Linked DNA regions of Homo sapiens: all the other regions are linked to region 1. Evidence: promoter capture Hi-C in human tissues and cell types (Jung and others, 2019). All regions are on one chromosome and are shown on one strand. Each heading gives the region's core, a stretch centred on a gene start or on the middle of the fragment in contact. The rest is flanking DNA. Distances are from core to core; before and after follow the strand shown. Region 1 holds the start of ITIH2 (inter-alpha-trypsin inhibitor heavy chain 2). Region 2 overlaps ITIH5 (inter-alpha-trypsin inhibitor heavy chain 5). Region 3 overlaps ITIH5 (inter-alpha-trypsin inhibitor heavy chain 5).

The links. Contacts are between HindIII fragments. The study calls those that stand out against the background at their distance.
Region 2: a fragment that was not itself captured here is called in contact with the fragment with the promoter of ITIH2 in region 1 in 3 of the 25 tissues and cell types used here (adrenal gland, heart left ventricle and spleen).
Region 3: a contact is called between a fragment that was not itself captured here and the fragment with the promoter of ITIH2 in region 1, in 6 of the 25 tissues and cell types used here (H1 embryonic stem cells, heart left ventricle, liver and 3 more).

What each region holds. Positions count from the first base shown.
Region 1 is chr10:7,701,347-7,705,911 of GRCh38, reverse strand. ITIH2 (inter-alpha-trypsin inhibitor heavy chain 2) reads right to left here and starts at 2,596. Exons shown (of 21, transcript NM_002216.3): 1 at 2,394-2,596; 2 at 730-804. The coding sequence starts at 2,477. The HindIII fragment of the contact is 26,123 bases long and covers 1-4,565 here.
Region 2 is chr10:7,606,415-7,610,979 of GRCh38, reverse strand. The region is part of intron 7 of ITIH5 (inter-alpha-trypsin inhibitor heavy chain 5); the gene reads left to right. Among named protein-coding and RNA genes, the nearest start is that of ITIH5, 58 kb to the left of the region's middle. The HindIII fragment of the contact is 3,117 bases long and covers 783-3,899 here.
Region 3 is chr10:7,622,762-7,627,326 of GRCh38, reverse strand. The region is part of intron 5 of ITIH5 (inter-alpha-trypsin inhibitor heavy chain 5); the gene reads left to right. Among named protein-coding and RNA genes, the nearest start is that of ITIH5, 42 kb to the left of the region's middle. The HindIII fragment of the contact is 8,428 bases long and covers 1-4,565 here.

The sequences.
Region 1 (4,565 bases), core at 1,347-3,846:
ACTTCCAATGTGGCCAATTCTCCTTCTCAGGTGCCCTCAGAGTGACCAGAGGAAGGAGATTGTGAGGCTGCAAGGGGGAGTGTCTGTCATCGCTAAAATAAGAAAAGTCTTCCTAACAGGAAATCCTTCCGGCAAGGCAGGAAATAATTTCGGAATCTTAAGTTTTGAAGAAAACACATAGCCATGTATTCTTTTTTTTTTTTTTTTTTTTAAATGGAGTGGGGACAGCGTCTCCCTCTGTTGCCCAGGCTGGTGCAATCATAGCTCACTGCAGCCTCGAACTCTTGGGTTCAAGTGATCCTCCATCTCAGCTTCTCAAATAGCTGGGATTACAGGTGCATGCCAGCTAATATATATATTAGCTGGGTGGCAGAGGTAGAGCCTCACTATGTTACCCAGGCTGATCTGGAACTCCTGGCCTCAAGTGATCCTCCCTCCTTGGCCTCTGAAAATGCTGTGATTATAAGTGGGAGCCACTGTGCTGAGTCGTGTACTCTTTAAGGGACTAAATTGAGCATTATGGTGTGAAGGCTGCTGAGCAGTTGTGTGAGTTTCTCTTTTTATTTCACCTGGGTGATCTCTTCCACCAAGGTGTAAGAAGTCTGGACTCTTCTGTGCTAAAAAACAAACTCTTAAGAAAATCTAGCAGAAGGCATCTTAACACTTGTCTTCTTCTGCCATAATCTCTTTCACTTTTTTTCCCCCTTTTGGGAGTAAACCTTACTATACCTGATATCTCCGGTTCTCTGCCACCAATTGAAATTTGCCTGGGGCCAGTTCCACAAGATCTTCATAGTCTACAAACTTAAAAAAAATTAGGATTTTAACTTTTTTTTTTTTAATTATACTGTAAGTTCTGGGGTACATGTGCACAACGTGCAGATTTGTTACATAGGTATACATGTGCCATGTTGGTTTGCTACACCCATTAACTCATCATTTACGTCAGGTATTTCTCCTAATGCTATCCCTCCCCTAGCCCCCCACCCCCTGACAGGCCCCAGTGTGTGATGTTCCCCTTCCTGTGTCCATGTGTTCTCGTTGTTCGACTCCCACTTATGAGTGAGAACATGCGGTGTTGGGTTTTCCCTTCTTGTGTTACTTTGCTGAGAATGATGATTTCCAAAAGATCTAGAGCCAAAGAGATAGCTGTTGGTATTCATTATTTTATATTCTTTCCTCTACCTCTGGGCAATCACAATTTTGTATAAAATGATTTCTTTAGTATATTTCTATTTGCTGGTTACGTCTCAGAGGTGTCCAAATGGAGGGTAACAACACCTTCGCATTTGTTGGACATGGGAATTCATTTTTGAGTTTGCCAGCAGGTGGTAAGACAGAGATCAAAACAACCCAGTGATTAGGTGGGTGTCTGGGGAAGTATCTGGGTAGACCCTGGAGGCATTTGCAGTGTCTGACTGGACAGACATGAACCATACATCTCCCCAAGTTAAAAATGTAGGTATTTTCTAAAAGGAAATGCCAGTTAGAAATGACTGAAAAAGCACAAACACATTTGGATGTCTTGGCTTCAATTTGAGATTTCTAACACACTCTGGTGGCTTTTAAGTGTTGGAAAATATGATAGTTTCAAAGCAGACAGAGTGATATTTTCCCTTTGTAAATATGCCGTCATATTCTCTGGCATTTTTATAGGTAATCCACTCTGCAAGTATTATAAGCCTTTGCATTTGCTGGGATGTTCCCATAACATGCTTCGCTTTTCTGGCATAAAAATAGCTCTTGTATGACTTTCAGAAACAGACTTTCAGTCCAAGACTTTCCTTACATTGGAGATGGCTAAGGGACAAAAGTGGAGACCTGTACTCCATGGGAATTATTCTTGTACTTTTCCACCCTGCCTGCTATCTTCCGCTTTAATAGGAATACTTAAAGTGCTCTTATTACAAATATCACTGTTCACTTAGATATGAAAAACAGTGTGCTTTGATAATGACTTTTCTTATACTCTTAGTAAAAGAGTGATAATATTTCTTCATCATCATAACAGCTAGTAATTATTAAGCACTTACTAGTCCAGGCGCTCTGCTAGAAGAGTTTACACTGTGTCATTTAATTCTCAAAGCAAACCATTGGGTTAGGTCTATTCTTACCCCCAATTTTTTAGGTGAGGAGTGAGCAGCTCTGCTCCATAAATGCTACGCTCTGATGCCTGCCCATTGATCTTGACTTAATTTTCATGCAAAACCTGTTAATGCTTTAAAAGGTAAATATACATTCCAGTAATTATAACAGTAAACACTTGCACTCAGATGAATTTTATCTTAAGTTTCCATTACACACAGAATAAGGCCATTGAATAGCGATTCCAATAGATGATTTACTGAGCTCATGAACAAGCCAACAGCAAGGAGTGATCTGTAAGTACTTACTTCAGAAAGTCCATTTATGGGGATTTCGAAGCCTGATACTTCAGAAAGAAAGAAGCAGATGAAAAAGCACGTGAGTCTTTTCATTTTGCTGGACAGTTTTGCCAAGCTCCCCAAAGCAGATGGTCTGGGGAGGATATCACTTCTTCCTACTGAACCAAGTTCAAAGGAACAGCAGAGGAGTACAGTTCGCTTTAAGAAAGAAGAAAAAAGAAGAAAAAACTCTCTAACTTTGTTCAAAATTGGGACAAATATTTGTTCTGGAGCTCAAACTTGAGCTGTGTGGGTGGATCGAACACCCAGAGGTTATTCAAACAGCAAAGTCAGAAGCAGTTGCTTACTGTGAGGACAAGTCAGGGGCAGATGGATGTGCTTGAATGTGCTTGTGTGCTTTTATTTTATTTTTATTTTTTATTTTTTGGCTTTTGCTGATTTCTATTGATCTTAAAATCAGAGAGACCTACAGATAATTGTCATCCTTTCTAAAGGACCAAGTGCAGAACTATTCCAAGAAACAAAATCCTTTGATCTAAATGAAAGCAGGAAAAATTTAGAAAAAGTGGGAGAAGACACAGAAGGGTTTTTCTGAGCAAAGAATTCATTGTGCATGTTTTCCCCTATCTCTTTGATGACTGTCTACCTGTTACCTATAAAGACCCAGGCAAGTGGCTGTGCAGGATACTAGGGCAGATCTTCAGTGAGAATGCTTCGTGAATGTCTTTGATTAAGGTAACAGTGTCTGTCCTGCTGCCCCTATCAGCCGGGCTCAGGTCAGTGGCAAATCAATACTCCCCAGTCTCAGAATTGGAGTGCAGTGGTGAGATCAAAGCTCATTGCAGCCTCAACTTCCCCCGGCTCAAGCAATCTGCCCACCTCAGCCTCCAGAGTAGCTGGACTACAGGTGTGCACTACACTGCCTGGCTATTTTTTGTAGAGATGGGATTTCATCATGTTGCTCATCCTGGTCTTGAACACCTGGGCTCAAGCTATCTGCTTGCCTCAGCCTCCGAAACTGCTGGGATTCCAGATGTGAGCCCCCATGCCTAGCCTCCATCCTGGTCAGATTCTATTTTTCTTGCAACAAACAGGAAATGTAACTTCTTGGATGCAACACTGAAATAGGAAGCTCCAGCTGTGGGCAGAATTACAATACAAGGGAGGTTGTCTTATCCTCAGGACCAAGCACCCCAGGCCAACTTCTGGGATCCTGGAGCTCCTTGCTACATTTAAAGCCCAATTCACAGGGCATGCAACAGAGAGTTTTCTGCATTTTCCTCCCTAGTTTCCCCTCAGTCTTCGAAATTGCACAGCCGTGTGTCTGCTGGAGAAACATAACTTCTGAAATAATGGAAGGGAGAAAACAGATTCTCCCCTCCCTTGCCTAGGTTGGACTAGTTGAGCGCCCACCTTGGCCAGTGAGTGCCTCAGTGGACCCCTCATGGAAAAATCCTGCCACAGCTTTGCATTCTTGACTGAGATACTGTTTCTGGAGAATTAAGACCCAATGGCAGCTGGGCGCGGTGGCTCACACTTGTAATCCCAGCACTTTGGGAGACTGAGGCGGGTGGATGACCTGAGGTCAGGAGTTTGAGACCAGCCTGGCCAACATAGTGCAACCCCGTCTCTACTAAAAATACAAAAATTAGCCAGGTGTGGTGGCATGCGCCTGTAATCCCAGCTACTTGGGAGGCTGAGGCATGAGAATTGCTTGAACTGGGGAGGCGGAGGTTAGAGTGAGCTGAGATCACGCCACTGCATTCCACCTGGGCAACAGGGCAAGACTTGGTCTCAAAAGAAAAAAATAAATAAATAATAAAAAACCCAATGGCATGTTCTCCCAAAAACAGCAGTGACTTTCAAAATCATACCTCCTTCCATTGATCATTTCCTTTCTGATTATTTTAATCTGATATTCAGAATTATCTCAGAATAAACCAAACCAAAAGCAGGCTGGACTTTTTTCCATGCTGATACTCTGTCTTCAGATCCCAAAGTCCTTTTTTTTTTTTTTTTTTGAGAGGGAGCGTCACTCTGTGGCTCAGACTCAAGCGCAATGGCATGATCTTGGCTTACTGCAACCTCCACCTCCCAGGTTCACGCGATTCCCCTGCCTGAACCTCCCAAGTAGCTGGAATTACGGGCGTGCACCACCACAACTAACTTTGTATTATTTTT
Region 2 (4,565 bases), core at 1,092-3,591, 95 kb after region 1:
GCAAGAGCAATGTAATAACAGATGTCAGATCATTTGTTATTCTCCCCTCTTCCTTCATTCCTGGATATTAAAATTCCATTCCTTGCTAGCCACTGAAAGTCTGGCATGCACTCTGCTGGCTTCGAAGCTTCAGCATGGCCTCTTTCCAGGAGAGCCACCCTAGACCAGCCAAACACATGTCTGAGCAATTTTGAAAGCCCCTCGCTGCCTTGAGTGGTTTTGAAATCTGCGGACTATTTTTGCAGTTCTCAGCATCTCCAAGGCCACAGTACTAAGTGAAAAGCTTAGCTGGCTCTTTGAAGAGTCTTGTATATGATGTTATGTCTATTGGTGAAGAGGACAATTATCCCAAGCAAAGGGCTTTTCATATTGTGTCAACAGGCTTGGCAATGTGGGACATTTGTCATGCATCCACATGGATTCTATTAAGAATCATTCACTGTTATTCCCAATGTTCTTGGCTCCCCTCGTCTTTGACGGGCCTGAAAGACCTTGCTGCATTTATTGCAATGTAGGACACATAGTTGGCATTTAATAATTACTTGAACTATTGATTTAGAAAAAGCTGTAAAGACCATTCAACCTTAAAAAAATATTCTCGGTAAGGGGTATATTGGCACCTGGGGAGCCCCCAAAGCTGTGTGCCTCTGGCATTTTCTGGTTCTTGTCCTAATCCCAGTGGGAACATGATCCTGGAAGCCAGGACCTGCCTGGCTTGGGAACAGCAACAGAGCTGCCTGAGGTTTGCTGGCACGTGGCTTTGCTGTTTTCCCTCCCGTGTGCTTTTGCAGATGAGTTTGTTGAGAGATGGCTGTGGTGTTGGGTCAGGCAGGGTTTCTACCTCCCAGTTTGAGCTAAAACTTCTTGGTGAGAATGGGAGCTGAGAAGAGCCAAAAAAAAAAAAAAAAAAGAAAAAAGAAAAAAAAGAAAGGGAGGGGGGAGAAAAATGTAATCAGGGAAGGCTTCTTTTTTTTGTTGTTAGTTGCATGCTTAAAGCATTGACATTTGCAGACAGACATGTAGTCCTTGGGAGGATTAAGAATATGCTTTTCCTTGACCATGGTGTCCACTTTCTTGTCTTTCCTTTCCCTGATCTATAGAATTAGATCTACTACTTTCACATTCATATTAAAGAACTTGGCTAAGGGACCCTCTTTGGCAACCAAGCAGTGACGAATGGATCACTTACCAGATGTTTTCCATGCTTTAATGGTCTTCAAACCTGTTCCCACACTCTGTGTCCCTCTGTGCCAATTCTGGGTTCCCACGTAGCCTTTGAAGCTTGTCTTCCTTTCTCCATTTTATTTAGTTGACAAATTTAGAGGGTAAAGAACAAGCATGTTTCTTATCTGTAATTGTCAAGTTAAAATGAGGGCAAACGTGAATTAGTCAAGTTAAAATGAGGGCAAACGTGAATTAACGAGTAGGAGGACTGGGATCTGCATGTCGATTTTGGTTCACTCACAGGCTTACTTTATGCTCTAGGACATTGGTTTCTCCCTCGCTGTCCAAAATTGGGTTCCCAAGGGCTATTTGGATATTTCATGTGTAACCTTACAGGTGAGTAATTTGTAAGCTCCATGGACTTGGGGAACATCTTGTGTTTGATCATTACAATATGCATTCCCAACTCTTCACAGACAGTGGGTAATGACATTTGCTGCCAAACTACCAGCCCACAAACAATAAATGTATCCTGCATTTTTCTGAGGCACAGTAGTTACCATTGAGTGATCAGTGCGTATCAAGTGCTGTGAGGGTTTTACGTACATTTCTTCATTTAATCTTTCAGCCATCCAGTGAAGTAAACATTGCTCTCCCTATTTTATGCATGGGAAGGTGGAGACCAGGAAAATGATGTAATTATGCTGAAATACACAAAGTTATAAGTAGGAAAGTTAGGATTCAAGCCCAGGTCAGCCTTACCTAAACCACTTCTCTGTAACGTCACATATGGACCGTAACACAGTGGTGGTCTGTAGACCACTTTTCAAGCTTTGAGGCTCTGTTTTTGTCACCAAGTAACGTGAAGGACAGTGCACTCAGGTGAGTGCACACAGATGTCACCTACTCAAAGAGGTGCCAGCCAGCAGGCTAGTATTGTGAAAAACTCACGAAGCTGTTCTGCTTTGATTCGTAGAATTATTGAGCAACGTTTTATTATTTAACACTAAGCACTCCTTGGGCGTGTATGGGGAGGCAAACTTCTTTCCCTTTCATGATGTGGATCGGGCAAGTGACATCCGAGTGTGCGTGCAGATGGCAGAAATGTAGACTGAGGCAAAGTGGCTCGGGCAAGCTGGGTGACTGTCAAGTCCAGTGATGTCCAACAGTGTGATATTGTAGCTGCCTTCTTCAGACTATGTGGGTCTGCCACATTTCAAAAGAGAGGATCCAGGCCAGGTATGGTGGCTCATGCCTGTAATCCCAGCACTTTGAGAGGCCGAGGTGGGAGGATGGCTTGAGCCCAGGAGTTCGAGACGAGGCTGGGCAGCATAGTGAGACCTCATCTGTACCAAAAAGATAAACAAAATTAGCCAGGCATGATGGCCCACATCTGTAGTCCCAGCTACTTAGGAGGCTGAGGTAGGAGGATGGCTTGAGCCCAGGAGGTCGAGACTGCAGTGAGCTATGATGGCGCCATTGCACTCCAGCCTGGGCAACAGAGCCAGACCTTGTCACAAACAAACAAACAAAAATTAAACGACGGAGATCAAAGAAGGCAGTCAGATTCACCGAGCAGCCTGGAGGAAAGCTCAGCATGAGCTGCGGGACCCAGAGGGCCTCTGAGGGCTTGCCATCTGGTTAGGGGAGAGAAATCCCTGAACAAATGAAGGCGCTCAGAAAGCAGGAGGATGCAAGCTTGCCCAGTGAGTGCATGCCTGAAAGACTGGGGGAAGGGGTCTCAGAAGGCAAGCGCTATGTGGCTATCATGCAAATAAAAATCGACAACAGAGAGCGTCGGGTCCACCTGCTTTGCCTGTTCAGGTCTAGGCCTTGTTTAAGCACCTGAAAGCAAGGCCCCAGGAAATATCAGAAGGAAATATCAGAAGAGTCTAGCTTCCCTTTTTGGCTTTCTGGAGCCAGTGTCATCAAACTTGTTTGTAAAGGGGCAGATGATAAACATCTTAAGTTTTGCAGACAAGATTTTTTTTTTCTTCTTTCGAGACTGAGCTTCGCTCTTGTTGCACAGGCCGGAGTGCAATGGCGCTATCTCAGCTCACTGCAACCTCCGCCTCCTGGGTTCAAGCAATTCTCCTGCCTCAGCCTTCCGAGTAGGCTGGGATTACAGGCATGCGCCGCCACACCTGGCTAATTTTGTATTTTTAGTAGAGATGGGGTTTCACTATGTTGGCCAGGCTGATCTCGAACTCCTGACCTCAGGTGATCCACCTGCCTCAGCCTCCCAGAGTGCTGGGATTACAGGCATGAACCACAGCGCCAGGCTGAAGATTCATTTTTCCAAGTTTCTCCCCTCTCCCCTCCTCTTTCTTTCTGTAGAGACAGGGTCTCACTATGTTACCTATGCTAGTTTTGAACTCCTGGACTCAAGCGATCCTCCCACCTTGGCTTCCAAAGTGTTGGGATTACAGGAATGAGCCACCACGCCCGGCCCCCAGATGGTTTCTGTTGTAACCACTCAACTCTGCTGTTGGATGCAAGATCTGTCCTCCTTGTGACAAGAGCACAGCCACAGGCCATATGCAAAGAAATGGGTGTGATTGTGTTCCAGTAAAAGCTTATTTACTAAAAGCAGGCAGCAGCAGGGCCCCTGAGCCACAGTTTGCTGACACCTGTCTAGAGCAAGGACTCATCAAAATGACCTTGAGTTACATGCCAGTTGATTGTGTTTATTCTCGTCTACTGGGCTGCCCTTGTCAAGACGTTGCTACCAGCAGATGCATGTTTCAGGAAAACATTGCAAAACAGAGATTTGAGACTTGAGGCAGGAAGCAGAAGACAGTGGGGAAAACTGGTTTTTGTCTCTGACTCAGAATATGAGGTAATAAATGATGGACAGAGGGCAAAATATTTTTTCCCTAGGCCATGAGTGAAAGCTTGAATTTTTAGTTTCAAGAAAAAAAATTGCTCTCCAACAATGATAATACAGATAATTTAAAATAAATTAGAGGCACCCATTGAAAAATTTATTGCTGTTGTTGAGGTAGTTAAGATTTACCCGGATGAAGTATATCTTAGAGGTAAAATGAGGTCCTATTTTATTTATTTTTCCTTTAAACTTTTATTTTAGGTTTAAGAGGCACATATACAGGTTTGTTATATGGATAAATTGTGTGTTGAGGGGGTTTGGTGTACAGATTATTTCATCACCCAGCTAATAAGCACAGTACCTGAGAAGTAGTTTTTTGACCCTCACCCTCAAGAGGCCCCAGTGTCTGTTCACTTCTTCGTGTCCATGTGTACTCAATGTTTAGCTCCCACTTATAAGTGAGGGTATACAGTATTTGTTTTTCAGTTCCTGGGTTAATTTGCTTAGGATAATGGCTCCCAGATCCATCCATGTTGCTCCAAAGGACATGATCTTATACTTTTTTATAGCTGCA
Region 3 (4,565 bases), core at 1,413-3,912, 79 kb after region 1:
TATCTTCTTATTTTCTTTTTTTTCTTTTACTTTAAGTTCTGGGATCCATGTGCAGAACGTGCAGGTTTGTTACATAGGTATACATGTGCCATGGTGGTTTGCTGCACCCATCAACCCGTCATCTAGGTTTTAAGCCCCGCATGTATTAGCTTTTGTCCTAATGCTTTCCCTCCCCTTGCCCACCACCCCGTTTTTGAAATTATTCTGATGTTTTTCTTTGCTCTGTGAGCATCATGATCTGCCTTTGCTGTGAAGACTTCGGTTGTCTTCGTAGACACTTGGTGTGGCACCTGGCATAGAATGGGTGCTCAGCAGGTGTTTGTTGAAGGAACTGAGGGGAAATAATTGTTGGTTATGACAGTGCTATCAGGTTTTCAGCACTTTCTTGGCTTACGTTGGTAAATTTTGCCAGATCTTGGGTCTAGCACTTATGTTGTTATGAAGCAGGGATTAAGAGACAAAAGTAATAACTAACTTTGGTTCCAGAAAATTCTGGTTACAGAAAATCTGGATAAATCCCCCTTAGCTAGGGTTGCCAGATGAGATATAAGATGCCCAGTTTCATTTGAATTCAGAGAAACGATATGTCCTGTGCAATATTTAGGACATGCTTGCACTAGGAAATTATTCATTGTTTATCCGAAATTCAAACGTAACCAGGCATTCTGTATTGTAATTTGCTAAATCGGGCAACTCTGCCTATTAAAGGGCTGCACTGTGACTGGCTGTGAAACCCCCAGCTCCAGGGTCCCGGTCTGGGTCCGGTCTCTGCTCTGCGGCTGGAAGGGCAGGACCCTGTTTGGCCTCTGCGAAATCTCTGTACCTTTGCCAGGAAACAATCTGGTTGTTATGTGAAGGTTTCCAGCATTGTTCACACAGAAATTATTCAGGTATGAATCATTTGGCCCCATAGTTGGTTGTGTTTTGATTTTTAATCCAATATGAAAATCCATGTTATCTTGTTTGTTTTGACGTTGGCTGTGGCTCGGTCAACCCAAGAGCGTGGCACGGTCAACCCAAGAGTGTGGCACAGAGGCTTTGGCTTTTCTCTGTAGCCCAATACCGGTGAGACACCTCCTCTTTACTGTGAGGCTTCACTCTTTTTCTTCCTTTTTCCTGCTGCCTTGGCTTGCTGTGGGAGGTGGATGTTGTCAGCATGTATGACCTGGGCCATCGCAGCTGTGGCTGAACCAGAGGTGGGCCGGGGGATGTGATGCAGATCACCAAGAGCATCTGCCACACCCCCTGAACACTTTCGGGAAGAGAAACATCAGTTCCCTTGAAGGGCTGCTCTGTCCATCTGCCCAGCTATGCACTAATGCATTTCATCATTTTCATCCTCAGTGTTCCGCAAGCTGGACGTGAACTCTCACATGTTTCTGGCGCTGTGCAAGGTTCCTGGAATCTACAGACGTCTAAGATGTTGTCACTGCCTTTGCAGAACTTAGAGCTGGCAATTAAAAACCTTGTAAAAATTGTGATAAAAAGCACACAATGTAAAATTTACCATCTTAGCCATTTCTTTTTCTTTTTCTTTCTTTCTTTCTTTCTTTTTTTTTTTTGAGACAGAATATCACTCTGTTACCCAGGCAAGAGTGCAGTGGTGCAGTCTTGGCTCATGGCAATCTCTGCCTCCTGGGTTCAAGCAATTCTCCTGCCTCAGCCTCCCCAGTAGCTGGGGTTACAAGCTCACGCCACCAGGCCCGGCTAATTTTTGTGTTTTTAATAGAGACAGGTTTTCACCATGTTGGCCAGGCCGATCTCGAACTCCTGACATCAAGTGATCTACCTGCCTTGGCCTCCCAAAGTGCTGGGATTACAGGTGTGATCCACATGCCCGGCCCATCTGAGTCACTTCTAAGTGTTTGGCAGTGTTAAGTCTATTCACATTGGTGTATTACCAATCTCCTGAACTTTTCCATCTCCCAAACTGAAACTTTGTACCCATTAAACACTGACTCCTCATCTCTCCTTCCCCCTGGTCCCAGATAACCACTGTTCTCCTTTCTGTCTCATCTATGAACTGGACAACTTTGCATACCTCATGTAAGTAGACTTATACAGTATCTGTTCTTTTGTGTCTGGCTTATTTCACCTGACATAATGTCCTCAAAGTTTATCCATGTTGTACCACATGTCAACATTTCTCTTCTTTTGAAGGCTGAATTATATTGCACTGTGTGTCTGCACCAAGTGCCACTCTGCTTTTCTCGGTTATTAGCCCCTGCTCTGCCTGCGTGCCAGAGAACCCTGCAAAGGCATTTGACAGAAGTCTCTCAATCTCATATTCCTTGGCTGCTCTACCATTGTTTCTGGTGGGCTTCCATTTGGTTGAATTCAAATGCTTGGGGCAGCTAGTATTTGAGGTCTCCAATGGACACGTGATGGCAGAAAGGGATAATGCATATATATATATATATATGTATGTATATATATACACATATATATACATACATATATACATATATACACATATATATGTGTATATACATGTATATACACATATATATGTGTATATATATATATATTTTTTTTTTTTTTTAGGCAGAGTCTCACTCTATCGCCCAGGTTGGAGTGCAGTGACACAATCTTGGCTCACTGCAACCTCTGCCTCCCAGGTTCAAGCAATTCTTCTGCCTCAGCCTCCTTAGTAGCTCATTTTTGTATTTTTAGTAGAGACAGGGTTTCACCATGTTAGCTAGGCTGGTCTGGAACTCCTGGCCCCAGGTGATCTGCCCCCCTTGGCCTCCCAAAGTGCTGGGATTATAGGCATGAGCCACCGTGCCTGGCCTGATAATGCATGTTTGTTTGTTTGTTTTGAGATGGAGTTTCGCTCTTGTTGCCCAGGCTGGAGTGCAATGGTACGATCTTGGCTCACTGCAACCTCTGCCTCCCGGGTCCAAGTGATTCTCCTGCCTCAGCCTCCCGAGTATCTAGGATTACAGGCATGCGCCACCATGTCCCGCTAAGTTTGTATTTTTAGTAGAGACGGGGTTTCTCCATGTTGGTCAGGCTGGTCTCGACCTCCCCACCTCAGGTGATCTGCCTACCTCGGCCTCCCAAAGTGCTGGGATTACAGGCATGAGCCACTGTGCCTGGCCTGGGAATGCATATTTTTAAGGGTTAACTTTTAGAAAGTGTGCTTGCTGGGTGAGGTAGTTGTACTTGTTTTCACACATAGTCTCTCTTGGGAAATTTTTTCAAATATGGAAAACTGAGAGTTGGGAATCTATTATTTTAGGAAGGAAGAGCATTGAATAAGCAGTGAAGAAAGCTGATTTGCTAAGAAACCTGGGCAAACATCTACTTAACTATAAAATACTACAGTTGAGTTTGAATCCCTTCAGCTATAAATTTGAATTAGTATTCTGTGCTATGTGTTGCTATCATATCTATATGATGCTGTTTTCCAAAAGGATTTAAAATACCAAACATTCACGTAGGGGGAAGAAAAATCCTTTCCCAAAGGAAAACTGTGGATAGTAAGAGACTTATGAAGGTATTTTTTTTTTTTTTTTTTTTTTGAGATGGAGTCTTACTCTGTCGCCCAGGCTGGAGTGCAGTGGTGCAATCTCGGCTCACTGTGAGCTCCACCTCCTGGGTTCACGCCATTCTCCTGCCTCACCCTCCTGAGTAGCTGGGACTACAGGCGCCTGCCACCACGCCTGGCTATTTTTTTGTATTTTTAGTAGAGACGGGGTTTCACCGTGTTATCCAGGATGGTCTCGATCTCCTGACCTTGTGATCCGCCTGCCTTGGCCTCCCAAAGTGCTGGGATTACAGGCGTGAGCCACCACGCCCGGCCTTATGAAGGTATTTAACCAAATTCCTTCTCATCGTCATTGCCTCTGTGTTACCAGTTTTTCTTTCAATCCTCTGCTGATTTGCTTGAGTTTTATCTTTATTGCCACCCTCAGAGGGTAGTGCTCCAATTATTCACAGTATTTTTGACCTCCATATATTTAAGAAATTGCCTCGTTGGATCCCAGGTAAGCAGGGTTCATAAACAAACATAGACAATTTAAGCTTCTTTCTAAAGAGGAAATGAGCAGGCAGCGTGTGTTGGGAAATCCTTTTGTCAATGCACCAGGTGTTGGCTGCTTTTCTCCGACAGCAGCCAAAACCCAGACCCTCAGGAAACAGAGGCCAGGAAATCCCTCTCCCTATCAACCCAGAGGGTGGCGCTTCCAGCCCGTGGCTGTGAGCATGGGGCTCTTCTCAATCTTTTCACCTTTGGCATTTTACATAGCAGTTGGCTGCCATCTTTCCCCATGTGATAATTGTCTAGGAAAAGATTGTATGTTTGCGACCAACCTCCATGTATCAGGACATCACTAAGGACATATGTTTTGTTCTCTTCAACTCTGATGCACAAGCTATAAAGTACTTTGTCATTACCTAATAGGATCAGACATAGGAATATTTAATGGCACTTATAAACATGGTTCTTAACTTTCTTTAGAGTCCTTGGAGAATGTGGCAAAATCAATGCATCCTTTCTTCAGAAAAAAATGTACATTTACGCTTACGTGCAAAATTCTGTGTATAATTTTAAGGGACTTTCA